Regions from separate parts of the Homo sapiens genome. Here all the other regions are linked to region 2. Evidence: promoter capture Hi-C in human tissues and cell types (Jung and others, 2019). All regions are on one chromosome and are shown on one strand. Each heading gives the region's core, a stretch centred on a gene start or on the middle of the fragment in contact. The rest is flanking DNA. Distances are from core to core; before and after follow the strand shown. Region 1 overlaps SLC12A8 (solute carrier family 12 member 8). Region 2 holds the start of ZNF148 (zinc finger protein 148). Region 3 overlaps SLC12A8 (solute carrier family 12 member 8).

Region 1 (3,026 bases), core at 428-2,927, 280 kb after region 2:
CCACTCAGGGATCCAGGCTCCTGCCATTTGTATGACTTCACTATGCCCTCGGACCTAGTCATGTGAAGAATCAAGACTGAGTTACCACATTCAGATTTCAGGCAGAGGAAGGGGAAAGTGCACAGAGAAGAGGCACACATTCTCTTAAAGACCTTGGGCCAGGAGTGGCACTCACTGCTTCTGTTCACATTCTGTTGCTGAGAACTTAGTCACATGGTTACACCTAACAGTGAGAAATCCTGTGGACTGTACTCTAGCTGGGGTCTGTACCACAGGAGCCCGCTGCAGTAAATGGATGAAAGATGAAAGTGGGTTGGACTAGGATGGGAGCAATGGAGGCAGTGAGGAGTCATTGTATCCAGAATATATTCTGATAGTAGAATAAACAAGGTTTATGGATGGAATAAGTATAGGTGTGAGAGAAAGAAGGGAGTCAGGATGAATCTTACATGTTTGTGTAAATGGTGGTGTTATTTATTCAAATGAAGATTTGAGGTGAATAGATTTCTGTGTTAGTCATGTTAAGTTTAAGGTGCTTATTAGCCAACTAATGGGTGATACTGAGAAGACAATGAGCTATTCAAAACTTAAGTTCAAGGGAGAGGTCGAGGATGATGTAAACTTGGAGTCATCAATATATCAGTAGCATTTAAAGCCATGAGACTAGAAGAAATCTCTTAGGAGTGGGTATACATGGAAAAAAGGAGTGCTGAAGACTGAATGTTGGAATACTCCAATATTTTCAGGTTGGAAGGAGGAGGCGAGCCAGCAAAGAAGACTGAGAGAGTGGGCAGTGACATAGAAAAATCAAGAGAGTGAGGCATCTTAGAGGATAATTTTTCCAAGAAGGAGAAAGTGATCACATGTATCAGATGCTGCCTGAAAGATCAAATGGGATGAGGGCTAGGAGTTGACCACAGAATTTGAAAAGATTCAAATCATTGGCAACTTTGGTAAGAGTAGTTTTAGTGGAAAAGTAGATACAATCATAAGAGTGGGTTGAGGAAATAATGGGATATAGAGACTGCATAGGCAATTCTTTTGAGGAGGTTTGCTATAAGGGAGAGACAGCAATAGGACAATAACTAGGGGTGAGCTGTAGACATTTGTTTAGGTGGGAGAGAAGACAGTATATTTGTATTTGTTGGGAATGATTCAGTAGGGGACAGAAAAATTGATGATGTGAGAACAAAGTCCTTGAACAGGCCAAAAGGGATGGGATCCTGGCACAAGTGGAGGGATGGGCCTTAGTTAGGATCAGAGGCTGTTCATCCACCGTGAAAGGAAGGAAGGCAGAATAGAGGGTATAGATGCAAGTGAATTGGCTAATTGGGTGATGAGAGAACATGAAAAGTTCTCTTTGGAGAAGAGAGCTTGTAAATTTGTTCTATCAGAGAGTAGGAGGATGAGTTGCCTAGGTATGAGGCTGCTGAGTAATTCTGAAGCATGGGAGCAGATGTGTATGTAGGTAAGAGGTTAGGGAAAGCGGGAGGTAGGTGATGGAAATCAAAAACATACTAAGGCAAACTATCTAAAGGTCCCTCTGTAGACTATGAATGGTTGGAATGAGGAACAGCAGAGCAAATGAGCTTAACGTTGCTTTTAAAGGAGGTTATGGGCTGAGAGTAGATTGCTGAAAGTCATGATTTAGGAAGTGTAAGGTTACTGGTAATGACACACCGCAAGTGCAGCTAAGGGAGTTGACAGTTGGGATGAGTGAAAGAAAAGATTATTAGTATGAGGATTTCAAGGAATCGAGAAAGTAGGGCTTTGGATGAGTTGTTTTTGTAGAAGTCACCAATGATGACAATGGATGCTGATAGAGAAAAAGATGGTGAACCAGGGGCTGAAATATTTAACAAGCAAGAGAAGAATGACAAGTTGGTAAAAGACTGTAATGATGAAGGGTAGGGTGTGAAATAGTCTGATGGCATGTGCTTCAAAGGGGCTAGGTCATAAAGCAACAGTGACCAGAGAGGATGGGAGACTTGGGCTAGGAATACTTAGTGAGTTCTGCTACATGCCAAGCCCTAGGCTCAAGATGGATGTGGACCCTGCCCCCATGAAGCATATAATCCAATGGGCATAGAAACATGTAAATAAGTATACAACTACAAATGATGGTAAGTGCTGTGAAGGAAATGGGCCATAAGGAAATATTAATGGTATGTGGGAATATATTTAGATTTTCCTGTGGGGGCTGATTTCCCTGAGGAAGTGATAACTGAGCTGAGGGATGCATAGGAGTTAGATAAGCAGAGGGCTAGGGGATCCATGAGACGTGGATCCCAGATAGATTCCAGGAACCAACACATCAGGAGTGGTTGACATGGGGAAGAACACTGGTATATGAGACAGGATTTGGACCGTAGTGAAGAAGGAAGGGCTGGGCAGAGGAGATGACACAGTCAAGAGAGTTTGGCTGAAGTGGAAATTTGATATTGGAGAACAGAGAAGGGCTATGTAGGGAGCTTTCTACTATATTTCCTGAGCAACAAACTATGAAGGTTGAGAACACCTGAAGTTTTAGTGTTGAAATGAAGTATAAACATACTGCGAAGTTAATTCAACATATCATTTATTTGAAACATTATTGTGGTGTTCATGGTGATTAGACCATATTGTTAAACAATCTAGATGCATTTTCATAGTTAAATTGAGCATTTCTGCAGAAATAGAAAGTCAAATGCCTCATGTCTTCACTTATAAGTGGGAGCTAAATAATGTGTACACATTGACATAGATTGTGGAGTAATAGACTTTGGAGACTCGGAAAGGTAGGAGGGTGGGATTGAGAGATGAGAAATTGCCTAATGGCTACAGTGTACACTATTTGGGTGAGGCTTACACTAAAAGCCCAAACTTCACTACTCTGACATTAAAAAATTATTATTATTTTTAAATTGAGCGCTTCTGGAGCCAGCTGTAAACTGAGAATGCAGAGCTGAATAGAACATGACATAGCTCTGAAAGCCCTGTTGTGCCTGAAAGGATGAGGCAGGATCATGCATTTGTTTATTGCCAGG
Region 2 (2,923 bases), core at 111-2,610:
TATTAAAATTTATATTTTTTAATGGAGAAAGCACACAGAGAGAGTTGATTGTGGAGCTGTGGTTTACTCTTGCTCTTAGTTACCTGTGTCTAAATTAAGCTGAACCTCTGGGCCTTAGCTATTTCTAAACAGGCATCACGATTTACTAAGGTTAATGCCTGAGGGAACATTAACCTTGCAGACACTAATCTAATTCAGTGTCATCACAAGTGCATAATGCAGGAGTTTGGAATTTTGCCAAAAAGCACTATTCAAATGAACATTTAGTTGGCAAGGGGTGGGAAGGCGGGTGTGGAAAAGGGAAGGAGAACACCAGAAATGGCTCTATAGATATTTTCATGCCTTTTCTTTTCCCTCTCCCCTCAAAGGTTACGTTTAAGTATTGCAGAGAGGCGCTAAATGGAATCTTCATATTATTATGAAGAAATCCCAATGAACGCGTTTTATCCCACGGCAAGTTCCAGATGCTCACAATTACTCAACATTCACTGAGCATCTTTTATGTTATATGGCTGACCTTGTGCTAGGGTGTGTACACAAAGATGAGTAATTGTAAACGATGGCAGTATGCAGAAGCACCTCAGGGCGCCTAATGTTAGCTGACGAAGGCACCATTAAGGAGGTCACAGTTTGGCTAAAGGGCCCCCAAAGGATGAGACAACTGTGTAATCCTAGCTCTATAGAGATCATTACCAAGTCTTTGCCATACAAAGTTTGGGCTTCAGGTGAAATGAGAAGGGCAAGGTTCTGCCCAAGAGGGTCCAGGGCCGGATCTCTTGATCTGTGTCTATGCCCACACCCTGCATCTCAGCTTGCAGACACTAATAGGGTTTGCCAGTTTCAAGGGCGCAGGGCTACATCTTCCGGAAAAGGTGGCATTTGAAGGTGGTAAGAGGCCAACGACTGGAGGTGGCGGCGAAGGGCTAGGTAAGACAGAATAAATGAAAAAGCCAAGACATTTCTGGCAAATAACCTTTCACCTAGGTCCCCGACCCTTCCATTTCCCCAGGCCTGAAACGCTCCCGAATCCCCGAGTCCTCCACTTTCCAAGCGCTGGGCATTGGTTAAGGCTGTAGGAGCAGGGAGTCCCCCGCTCTAAGAGAGTTCCTCAGTTCCGATCTTTTTCAAACCGCTTTCCTCCCAGGCCCAGCCTGGGGGGCCTGCGGCTCGGGTCCAGCTTCCACGGCCACCCTGGGCTGGTGACACGCAGGCGCCGGAATCGAAGCCACGCTGTGTCTTTCCAGCCAGGTCTCTGCGCCAGACGAGGGCGGGCGCCGCGGAGCGCTTCCCGTGTGCGGGGCTTCCCACAATGCACCGGGCCGGCAGTGGCGGCGACCGCGGCGGCGCTCTAGCTGCGGCATGTCTGCGTCTCTACTGCTCTGGGAGGAGGAAGAGAAGGAGGAAGAGGAGGAGGAGGAGGAGGGGGAGGAAGAGGAGAAAGGCGCAGGGGTGGGAGCTGTTGCCGAAGCTGCCACAGCAAAAGTTCTCCCCCCTCCCCCCTTCCCCTCCTCTCAAGGCCCCTAGAAAGGTTGGAGCTGCCGCCGCCTGCAGTCGGTGACCGCGCGACTCGGCGCCCGCCCGCGGTAAAGCGCTCGGCCTGGCAGGCCCGGGCCCGGGGGAGGGCGGGGGAGGGGGAGGGGGCGGCGCGCGGGGGGAGCGCGCGGCGGTAACGGCCTGACCCCGGGGGGAGCGAGCCGTGGCGAGGCTGGGGGTGGCCAGGGGGCCAGCCGAGGCCGAGGGAAACGCTGGGGCTGGCTGGGGGACGTGAGGAAGCAGGGCGCGGAGGGTGGGTTGGGGGGTTGAGGAGGGATAATGACGGGGGTGGCGGAGGCGAGAAGGCGGCCTCCGAGGCTGGAGGCGGGTGTCAGAGGTAGGGGAGGAGGTGGGATGTTTGCACGGGGAGGCCGGAGGGTGCTGGGTGTGGGTGTGAAAAGGCTAGGGAGACACCAGGGCTCTGTCCACCGTGCCTGGTGCAGTGCTTTATGCACCGCAGGCCTCAGTCACTGTTGCTGCCGGAGTGTGCTCTTTGGGAGAAGGGAAGGGCAGGGGTTGGAGAAAAGGGAATGCTTGCAGGAAACGTAGTGGGAGTGCGAACAGGGCGAGGGGCCGGAGGAAAGATGCCGGAGAGGTGGAGGAATGCGGGGAGGTGGCTGTGGAGGAGTCTTGAGGATTCTGGGGGGTGTTCATTGTGCAGATACGTTAGGTATTTCATTATGGAAAGAACTGAAGCGTTTCTCAGGGAAGGAAAGAAGGGAGATAGGAGTTCCCGTGAATAGAAAGGATCGCGTTTGAAGCAAGAGGGAGTGCTAAATAGTAGAGAAGATGCAGGGAATGCATAATAGAATAGACAGATGTAGTATAATTAATAAATATTGGCCTAAGTACTGAAGAGTTATTCCAGATGGGCCGGGATGGCCTAGTTCCGAACCTGTGTGGGCTGTTCAGTAGATGACATCTGGTAAGTGTGGGTCTGGGCCGTGGTTGGGGTCACTGAGAATTAGATTTTAGTCTGTAGTTTGGTCTGTGACATTTTAGACGTGCACCAATGAGTATGAGAACCTCTGAAGCAGACCTTGAGAAAGGGTCTGGCCTGTGGGGATTCCTTAGGCTATGGAGCTTCGATTTTAGAAAATTTGAAGTATTAACACTTACCCGAGGTTGGGTAAATACTATCCTGGCAAACGCTGGAATGGAAATTAATTGACTTGGTGGTTTTCTTCACTGCCCAGTTTATCTGGTCCAGGAGAATTGGTGCCGTATTATTCAGCCTGGATTGCAGTACACAAGATTATAATTAATGGTCGGGGGGAAGACATGCTTGCTGGCTCTTCTTTAGATACTTCATTTGTAGCTCAAATTAGTTGGCTGGATTGGTTCCATAAATCTGTGGCTGGTGGGAGATCTTCTGCCATTCACAGTTCCT
Region 3 (2,935 bases), core at 230-2,729, 260 kb after region 2:
TGTTCCTGGGGAAGAGGCTGGGTGTGCCTCCAGGCTTGGTCCTGCCCTTTTCTGAGCCTCATCCTTTAGCCTCCTGATGATTCTACAAACCACCAGTGTCCTACAAATATATTCTTTTTTAAAGAAATTTTTTTTTTCCAATCAACTGTCCTGACTGATTCATCCATCAGTCAAATTATTCCAGTGATAATTTATGAGCCAGGAAAGAAGTCTAGCCAGTGGCTTGTGTTCAATGTAGCTTGGTGACACGAATCCGGTGCTTTGCTGATGCAAGGAAGTAAAAAATGGGGTGAGGAGAGCCTTCATCAAGAAGGGTGTAAGTGACAAAGCTGAATATTAACTCTAACCTATCTGTAAGCATTGGACGCATGAGTACTTGGAATGTACAGTTCTGGCCATTGTGCCTAAAGGAAAGTAGAATGGAAAGGGCACCTCAAATAAGAAAACAAAGATGCTTTCCTGTGGGTACAGATGAGATCTGGCCCAGGAGGGTGAATTCATGAGTGACAGCTTGGGATCTGGCTGTGCATGGCAAGCAGTCATGCAGCCACCCAGCCCCTTAGCACTTTTAGCCCTGAGTTAGCTAGTAACATCTTGGACCCTGATCTTTTGCAAGTTGACACCAAGAAGAACAGCTGTGCCCTCTTATTCTATCTGTTGGTGCCTTGTGGGTCATGGATCTCATTCATTCATTCGTCATTTATATTTCTGTGTTGGGCACCAAGAATTCTAGGGTAAACAAGACAGAAGGCCTGCTTAAATGAAGCCTCCAGATTAGTGGAGGGGGCACCACGATAGGTGCTATCCTAACATCATGTTGGGGATGCTATGGAGCACTGAGAAGCAACTACTGTAGTCAGGGAAGAGGGGATGGCCTCACAGTGGAGGTGAGGTTGGTGCTGAGTTTTGTAGCACAATTAGGAGTTTAACAGACAATGAGTAGATTAGGGCGTGTGAACAGAGGCTTCCTACAGACAGAAAAATCATGCTGATCAGACTTTCAGTGTGCAGGGTGTGGAGCTAAAGAGGTCACAGACCATGAAGAGCCTTATATGTCAGGACAGGGGGAGATTTTGATATATCTGCAACGGAGACATTGTGGTCAGATTTGAGTTTAGAGAACAGAGGCTTAGGGGATGATTCAGAGTGAATCATCTGAAGATTTAAACTCATCTTTAAGGGTGAGCTTAAAGGCAAGAGGCCAATGAGCATTGTGGTTGGCCAGTTTGTTCTCAAAGTGTGGTCTCTGGGAACGCATGCGGAATCCAGATTTCTAGGCCCCACCCCAAGCCTACTGAACCAGGAACTCTGAGGAGGGGCCCAGAAGTTTGTGTTTAGCAAGCCCTGCAGCTGAGTCTGGCAGACGCTTCATTTGAGGACCACTGTGCAATCCATATGAAATGTGGTGGTGGATTCAGCTGAAACCATGGAATGAATGGGGGCGAGGCTGGGGATGTGGAAACTGTATCCCAGGGATCAGATCTAGACGACTCAGTGGATGATTGCATGGGGTGCAGGTGGGTGGGTGCTGGGGGGGTAGAAAGGCACAGGAGCAGGTTCTGGCACTGGCGAATGAAACCGCTTCTCACACAGGTATCCCTCATGGGCTTCCTGTTCCTTTTGGGCTTATACATCTCGTCCCTGGCTTCCTGCATGGGAGGACTTTATGGAGCTCCCCGCATCCTGCAGTGCATTGCCCAGGAGAAAGTGATCCCTGCACTTGCCTGTCTGGGACAAGGGGTGAGTAATCCTCTTTTTTTGGTTTGTTTTTTGAAACATGTTTTGCTGCTAACCTCACTGTTGGCCCATCAATTGGTTAAGCTTTTCTGATCAGAGCCTCTGGTCAATTTCTTTGGGGTGACACAGAAAATAATGCAGAGGTCATTTCTTTCAGCCCTGTCCTCTGGCTGGCTTAGGTTAGGGCTAAGTAGATGAAGCATCTTAAATGTCCCAGCCACCCAGCCCCTTAGCACTTTTAGGACTGGGTTAGCTAACCAGTCCTAGTACCATCTTGGACCCTGAGCAGCATGAAAATGCAGTGCCCCATCCTTTAATGAAAATGAATTCAGGATCCTCCAGGTTTAGCATAGAAGAAAGCGTGTTTTGGTCAGGAGGCGAGCTGGTCCTTGCAGCTCTAACTCTGCCCTTGAGTTTCAACCGCCCCTTGGGGGTTGCTGTTTGATGATTTCCTACACCTCTGGCGTCTACACTTCCTGTTAACCATCATGAACCAAACCTTAACTGATACATAAAGGGCAGCTCAGTTGAGACATGGCTGGAATGATTAAAATAGACATTCCTAAAGTCCAGGGGAGGACCAAAGAGACATAAACAGAGAATCCCATTTCCCACTAATATGGTTTGCAAGCTAGAGTTCATTTTTGTCTTGTTGGGGTACCCCAGAGGGCCTCCCCAGCCGCTTCCAATTTTCAGCCTCTCTCTGGTTTAGGGAACACATCGTTGCAACTTATCCTTGATTTCTTCCTTTATCTTCCTCCAAAAATGCAGTTTGGTTTTGGACATAGTCCGTTTGAGATCCTATTAGACGTTCACTGGAAATGTTGAGTAGGCAGTTGGATATGTAAACCTGGGTTTCAGGGGAATGTTTTAGGCTGGAGATTCAAATTTGGAAGTTGTCAGTATAATGCCGGTATTCAAAGCCGTGAGCCTAGTTGAGCTCACCAAGGGAGGGAGTACAGATAGAGATCTGAGGATGGAGCCTGGGGCTGCTTTAAATGTGGAGTTCAGAGACGTGAAAAGCCAGCCACAGAAACCAAGAAGGAGCAGCCAGTGAAGAGGGAGGCCAATCAGGAGAAGTAAGGTGAAGAAAGTGTTTCGAAGAGGACTGAGTAGCCAGCTGGGTTAAAGAAGACAGGGACTGAGAAGTGACTGTTGCTTTTGGCCCAAGAACTATGTCAGTGACTGTGATGAAGAG

What was found. The method cuts DNA at HindIII sites, captures the fragments that hold promoters and counts their contacts. A contact is called where the count stands out against the background at its distance.
Region 1: a fragment that was not itself captured here is called in contact with the fragment with the promoter of ZNF148 in region 2 in 1 of the 25 tissues and cell types used here (IMR-90 fibroblasts).
Region 3: a contact is called between a fragment that was not itself captured here and the fragment with the promoter of ZNF148 in region 2, in 1 of the 25 tissues and cell types used here (mesenchymal stem cells).

Annotation. Positions count from the first base shown.
Region 1 is chr3:125,092,748-125,095,773 of GRCh38, reverse strand. The region is part of intron 10 of SLC12A8 (solute carrier family 12 member 8); the gene reads left to right. Among named protein-coding and RNA genes, the nearest start is that of DAGARR, 33 kb to the right of the region's middle. The HindIII fragment of the contact is 9,463 bases long and covers 1-3,026 here.
Region 2 is chr3:125,373,762-125,376,684 of GRCh38, reverse strand. It overlaps ZNF148 (zinc finger protein 148), which reads left to right and starts at 1,360. Exons shown (of 9, transcript NM_021964.3): 1 at 1,360-1,583. It overlaps LOC105374080 (a long non-coding RNA gene), which reads right to left and starts at 1,259. Exons shown (of 3, transcript XR_924427.3): 1 at 1-1,259. RefSeq lists enhancers at 1,036-1,085, 1,196-1,465 and a silencer at 1,576-1,625. The HindIII fragment of the contact is 11,832 bases long and covers 1-2,923 here.
Region 3 is chr3:125,108,994-125,111,928 of GRCh38, reverse strand. It overlaps SLC12A8 (solute carrier family 12 member 8), which reads left to right. Exons shown (of 14, transcript NM_024628.6): 9 at 1,594-1,740. Among named protein-coding and RNA genes, the nearest start is that of MIR5092, 41 kb to the left of the region's middle. RefSeq lists enhancers at 753-802, 1,093-1,302, 2,762-2,931. The HindIII fragment of the contact is 6,091 bases long and covers 1-2,935 here.